Linked DNA regions of Homo sapiens: region 1 is linked to region 2. Evidence: promoter capture Hi-C in human tissues and cell types (Jung and others, 2019). All regions are on one chromosome and are shown on one strand. Each heading gives the region's core, a stretch centred on a gene start or on the middle of the fragment in contact. The rest is flanking DNA. Distances are from core to core; before and after follow the strand shown. Region 1 overlaps SHROOM2 (shroom family member 2). Region 2 holds the start of CLCN4 (chloride voltage-gated channel 4).

Region 1 (2,788 bases), core at 21-2,520, 260 kb before region 2:
AAAATGAAATGGCAAGACAAGGCATGAGCAAGAAGGGGAGCATAGGACTTGGGTTTCAGCCAAGCTTCTTTGGGATTGGCCAGGTGGGATGCCAGGCAGTAGGGTTCTGAGCCGGTGGGGTGGCATCCACGGCACCCCTCTCCTTTCCAGGGTTTTACACATGGACTGGAAGGCAGGAGATATATATGGGGTGGCAGGTATATCTTGTAAAAGCTCCCAAGAGGTTCTTTAAGCTTTGGTAGCCTCTCCTCAACCCTCTTGGAGTTAGTGGCAGTATCCTCACTAGTCTCCTGTTAAGAGGATGGCGGTAACAGCAGATAGTCTGCTTTTGGTGTGCGTGTGTGGATGTCTCCCTGCTTGCGTGAGTGTGTGTGTGTATCTGTGTATGTTTACGGGTGTGAGTGTGTGGGGGGGTGTGAGTGTGCATGTGTATTTCTACACGTTTGTGTGTGTGTGTCTTTGTATGTGTATGAGTGTTCATGTGTCTGTTCGTGTGTGCCTGTATGTGTGCCTGTGCATCTCTTTGCTTGTATGTGCATGTGTGTGCACATGTATATGTGTATGTGAGTGTGTGAGTATCAGTGAGCATGTTTGGTGTGTGTGTGTGTGTGTGTGTGTGCGCGTGCGTGCACACGCAGGTATGTGTCTGTGTTTGGAGCTAATGTAACCACTCAGTTTTTGGCTGTTAATAAATGCTGGTCTTGGCTGGGCGCAATGGTTCATGTCTGTAATCCCAACACTTTGGGAAGCTAAGGTGGGAAGATTGTTTGAGTTCAAGACCACCCGGGACAACACAGCAAGACCCCATCTCTATTAAAAATAAAAGAAAATTAGCTGGGCATTGTGTGCACACCTGTAGTCCCAGCTACTCAGGAGACTGAGGCAGTAGGATCACTGAAGCCCAGGAGTTCGAGGCTGCAGTGAGCTATGATTGCAGCACCGCACTCCAGTCTGGGCAACAGAGCAAGACCTCGTCTCTTAAAAAAAAAAAAAAAAGAAAAGAAAAAAAAATACTGGTCTGTAAAATTGCAAGGTAAAGATTTATATGACACGAAGGAAAGACAACTGAAATATAACATTACCCCTAAAGTGACAAAAGATGATGGTATTTAGAGCCCAGTGTATTTTTTGGGGAAAAAAAAAACACAAAAAAACAAAAAGCCACAGATTCTCAACTGAGTAGTAACACTTAAGTGAACAGTGGGCCTTTTATTTTATTCCTGAAGTGACTTAAGGTGATGAGATCTCCATTAAGCCCATTTGGCAGTCTCTTGATGAAAGAAACATGCACACTGCCCACATCTGTGTGGAAACAGTGCTCAGAGTTCTCTAGATCTGCTTGGACTTGGGATCTCACAGAAAAGTCCCTTCCAGAATACTGGTGGGTAGTCAGGAGCATGCCCCGGGTTTGAGGATACGTGGTCTGTTCTTACAGAAGATGGGTGGGAAACCCAAACAGTCCTCTCCCTCCCATAGATGACAGCCAGTTGTTCTCCAGTGTTCTGTCCTGGTCACACGGTTCTCTCATCCTCACTCTCCCCCAACCTAGTGGAGCCACAGCTTCTTCCTGTTGAAGGGTGAACATCTCAGCTTTGTTGAGCTTTAAAGAAAGCACTTAACATCCTGGATAAATAGTTTCACCATTGAGAGCTCTCAGTCACACACAGTTATTACCTTACAGAGGAATCAATGTGTCAACTCACCGTCAATTTCATCCTCTTAGACACCATCCTGTTTAGGAGCCTGTGTTTTTTGGTGTGAGTGTCAATAACTCTGTAGGGTATAACCAGTTAGCTGAAAGCTGAACACAGCAGTGTGTGATATTATTATTATTATTATTATCTTTGAAACAGGGTTTTACTCCATTGCCCAGGCTGGAGTGCAGTGGCGCAGTCACAGCTCACTGCAGCCTCAACCTCCCAGGCTCAAGCCATCTTCCCACCTCAGCCTCCCAAGTAGCTGGGACTACAGGCATGCACCACCACATCCAGCTAATTTTTTAAAAAGTTTTTATAGAGATGGGGGTCTCACTATATTGCTAAGTAAGGCTGGTCTCAAACTCCTGGCCTCAAGTGATCCTCCAGCCTCAAGTGATCCTCCTGCCTTAGCGTCTCAAAGCACTGGGATTTCAGGTGTGAGCCACCAAACCTGGTCTGTAACAGGCTAGCTAGTAAATGCTTTTGGCTTTGCAGGCCGCACATCTCTGTTGCAGTTACTCAGCTCTTTCATTATAGCCCAAGAGCAGCCACAGACACTACGCAGACACATGGGCACAGTTGGGTTCCAGTAAAGCTTCATGTATGAACTGAAATTTGAATTTCATATCATTTTCACAGGTGAAATAGGAGAAATAGTATGCCTCTTCTCCCACCATAAAACATATAAAAACCATTTGGGCTGGGTGCGGTGGCTCATATCTGTAATCCCAGCACTTTGGGAGGCCGAGGCAGGCAGATCACTTGAGGTCAGGAATTCGAGACCAGCCTGGCCAACATGGTGAAACCCCGTCTCTACTAAAAATACAACAAAATTAGCCGGGCACAGTGGCAGGCACCTATAATCCCAGCTACTCGGGAGGCTGAGGCAGGAGAATCGCTTGAACCCAGGAGGCGAAGGTTGCAGTGAGCTGAGATCACGCGTCTGCACTCCAGCCTAGGCGACAGAGTGAGACTGTCTCAAAAAAAAAAAAAAAACCAAAATCAACAACAACAACAACCTGAGTTGTGGTGTGGCCACCCCTGCGCTTAACTGTTGATTGACCATAGACGTGTAAATGCAGACGTTGCCT
Region 2 (3,656 bases), core at 879-3,378:
TCCAGCACATCATACAATGGGGAACTCTTGAAAATGGCTGGGAAATGGAACATCTTGGGCATCAAATTATACTCCATCAGTAATTCAAACCAGGGTTTCTCGACTTCAGCACTATTGTACTGATATTTTGGGCCGAAATGTTCATTGTCCCGGGAGGTAGGAGTGGAGAGGGAGCTGTCCTGTGCACTGTAGGATGTTCAGCAGCAGCCCTGGCCTCTACCCACTCAATGCCAGGAGCACACGGCTCCTCCCACTTCAGTTGTGGCTGCCAAAAATGTCCCCTGGGGGAAAGGGAGCAACATCACCCCATTAAGAACCGCTGTTCTAAACCTTGTATGACATCTGTAGAAAACTGGCAGATAAGAGAAAAAATGTAGAAGATTCAAAGGGATAGGAAAGAGAAATCTGTGAAGACAATGGAAAGAGCCTGTAGTCCCAGTTACTTGGGAGGCTGAGGCAGGAGGATTGCTTGAGCCCAGGAATTTGAGGTTGCAGTGAGCCATGATCGTGCCACTGCACTCCAGCCTGGGAGACAGGGTGAGACCCTGTCTCGAATGAACAAAAAACTCAAAGGTTATTATTCCGTAACTATTGAAAGAATCTTTTCATGAAGGATGGTAATAACCAGCTTTCTATCTCCACACAGAGCAAAGTAAAAAGAAGTAGGTTTAAATGGAAGAGAAATTAAAACTGGACATACAGATGGTTAAATATTAACAACGGCCCCTGAATGGCACTTTCTTTCCTAAAGATCTTCATGAGCAGAATAATCTAGGATGGCTAGGGATTGTTCCCTCGGGACTTTGTGGTTAAGAATTCAGGATCTTCAAGTAATGAAATCTGCATTAAAAAATTAGCCAAAACTGTTTGTTTATTCCATAATCATGTCTATATGGTGCTTTTAAGAAAACAATTTTTTTGTTGCTATAAAAGCAATACATATTCACTGTGGAAAAATTAGACGATATCTCTAAGCTTAAAAGAAGAAAAATTTAAAACACCCTTAATCCCACTAACCAGTGAGATACCATGTTTGATACTTTAGTGAATTCATTTCCTAATAGTTTTCTGTGTTCGCAAAGGTATATGTGTAGATATAAATATATTACACCTACATAGAAACGACGGATCACTCAGCACATAATGCTTTGAAGCTTCCATTTTTTTTCCCATTTAATCCGCTGCACATGTCTTTTTCCATCCGTGTGTACCACCGTATTAGTTTTAATTCTTCCACTGCACAGATGGCTTATAATTTAAAACATCCCCTGTTTTTGGAGATTTAACTTGTTTCCAGTGCTTTGAGATCATAAGTAATATTGCAGCAAACTTTCCCTAGTCAGGGGTTTGCACACCGTTCTTCCCCCCACCCCCACTCCCCACACCCCAGGACAAATTCTTGGACATCAAGTTGCTGGAGCACATGATACCAACAGCTGTAGGGCCCGGAGTAATTGGCGAAACTGTGTATCTGTAAGGCATTTGGTAGGAAAAATGCTAAACAGACCACCAGAAAGATTGCTCAACTTACATTCCCATGGGTGGTATTGGTTTTTGCTTTTTTTGGTTTTGTTTTTTAATCTTGGCTAAAATGACAATTTGAAAGGCGAGGGTGGAGGGTGTTCAGACAGCTCTCTCATTCTGTTGAGAATTGCTTGGCCCAGTTCTGGGCCTTGTCTGAATTGCCGGTTTGCTGCAATGTTTTTTACAATTGAGCAATCACCTAGAAAAAAGAGAAGGTGAAACTAACCTACTGCAAAAAAACTGCTCCAGGATGAAGAAGGTTGCCTGTATTTCGTCATTTCAGCCAAGCCGGAATACGGAGCAAGGCTGTCTGCACCGTGCTACCATCCTCTTCAGGCTGCAGGGCATTTTGTATACCCACCACCTCCCATTGATGCTGGAAAATCCGGTCACAGAATTCCGTGCAGCCCAGCCCCTGAGGGTGGGGCGTCCTGTCTCCGGGACGCCGGGTTTTCTCTGGACACGAATGCTCCGGGGGTAGGAGGCGAATGACACTGGCACGGCGGGGCTCCGGAGCCAAGAGGTGACCAGGCTGGCTGGGCAGGGCTGAGTGGCTGGGCCGAGCACGTGATGCTCCCAGCCGGCCTCCGGGGCCCTCCGGGCTGAAATCGACATTTGCCTCTGGCAGGAAAATGAGCTTGTCAGTTTCTGCCTCCATTAGACCCTCAACCCAAAGGAGCAGGAGATTTCGGTAGCGTTTTAACTTTATCTCAGAATCTGAAAGCGGAAGGTAAGCTGCTTATCACTCAGAAAAACAAATTTGAGAGGAGTGACCTAGTAAAGTACACTGCGACTTTGTTGATTTTTAAAATCTGGTGTTGAAAATAATTGATCGCTGTGAGAGTCAAGGGCTGTATTTATCCCCAAATTAGAGATTAACCTTCTGAACAGAAATTTGGTTAATTTGGAGGGAATCACGGTATAAGGGCCAGGGTTAAATATAGAAGGACACGAAAGCTGATGGAATAAACTGCAAGTAAACTTAACTCTAGCCTGCTTGTAAAACAATCTATTTCATGTCTCCTTCAGGGCTGTGAGCAAAGGGAATGTTAAAATTGTGATTTTTAACTCAAGTGAAAGTAAATGAATCTATTTGCAATTGGAATACAAATAAAAGCAGTCTTTGCTTTTGTCCTTTTACATTTCAAAAACGCTTGTGTATTTTGGCAAAAGAAAAGTTTATATGTGCACTGCTTAAGTTTGAAATACGCTATTTCAAATTTACAAAATTATCACAGTTGTAATTTTCTAAAGTCTTTCTAGGCAAGGCTGTTTCAGTTGTGAATGAGAAATGTTGACATTGTACATATTTTCTGTGATAGTAAAATGACTCACTTCTTCAGAATGTGATAAAGATTAGAAAATGTGAAATAATGAGTTATTGTGAATTAAGTCATGTCTCAGAGATTAAATGCCTTGCCAGAAGATGTAAGAAAACAGAGACACAAATACAACCATGCTCACGTAGCAGTGCTTTATTTTAAATCATCACATATTTAAGTAAGTAGTAGAAATACGTGGTGTCACCATTTTTTCCTTTGGCAAATACAAATTAATATTGGAATGCAGCTATTCAGAGTAATTAAAGCATTATTCATCCGTGCAATTAGTATAATGTTCCATAATGAATTGCTTTGAACTAAAGTGTTTGGTATAATACTCGATATACGGCTTGAAACATAGAAACTCTAGGCAAAGTATGTCCATGCTATATTTTGTGTCATTTTGATTTGCACAAAATGTTTATTTCTCCACTGCATTTGATAAATACTAGTTTTAAAATAAAACATGAAATTGTATTTCCTTTCACTGTAATCCCTTTATTGCTAATTCTTTTGAAATCCTATTACTCGCTTGGAGCCTGTAATAATTTGGATTTCTCCTCCTGTGTGTTGTTTTTCATAATTCTTCGCGAAAGGCCAGGCAAGCTGCACACATCAAGCGAAACGCCTGAGGGGCGGCCAGCGCGAGGGTTTCTGGCCATCGACCCTCACCTCCCGGGACTTCCAGGGTCTTCCCCCCACCCCGCGCACACCTCCCTGCCTCGCCCCGAGGGCGTCACGTGGCAGCGTGGGGCCCGCCTCCTGGTGATGTCACGGCGCTCGCAGCCGTCGCGCTGAAGAAAGGATGCT

The links. The method cuts DNA at HindIII sites, captures the fragments that hold promoters and counts their contacts. A contact is called where the count stands out against the background at its distance.
Region 1: a contact is called between a fragment that was not itself captured here and the fragment with the promoter of CLCN4 in region 2, in 2 of the 25 tissues and cell types used here (IMR-90 fibroblasts and dorsolateral prefrontal cortex).

What each region holds. Positions count from the first base shown.
Region 1 is chrX:9,891,275-9,894,062 of GRCh38, forward strand. The region is part of intron 3 of SHROOM2 (shroom family member 2); the gene reads left to right. Among named protein-coding and RNA genes, the nearest start is that of CLDN34, 75 kb to the right of the region's middle. The HindIII fragment of the contact is 5,546 bases long and covers 1-2,788 here.
Region 2 is chrX:10,154,847-10,158,502 of GRCh38, forward strand. CLCN4 (chloride voltage-gated channel 4) reads left to right here and starts at 2,129. Exons shown (of 13, transcript NM_001830.4): 1 at 2,129-2,254; 2 at 3,443-3,656. The HindIII fragment of the contact is 5,415 bases long and covers 1-3,656 here.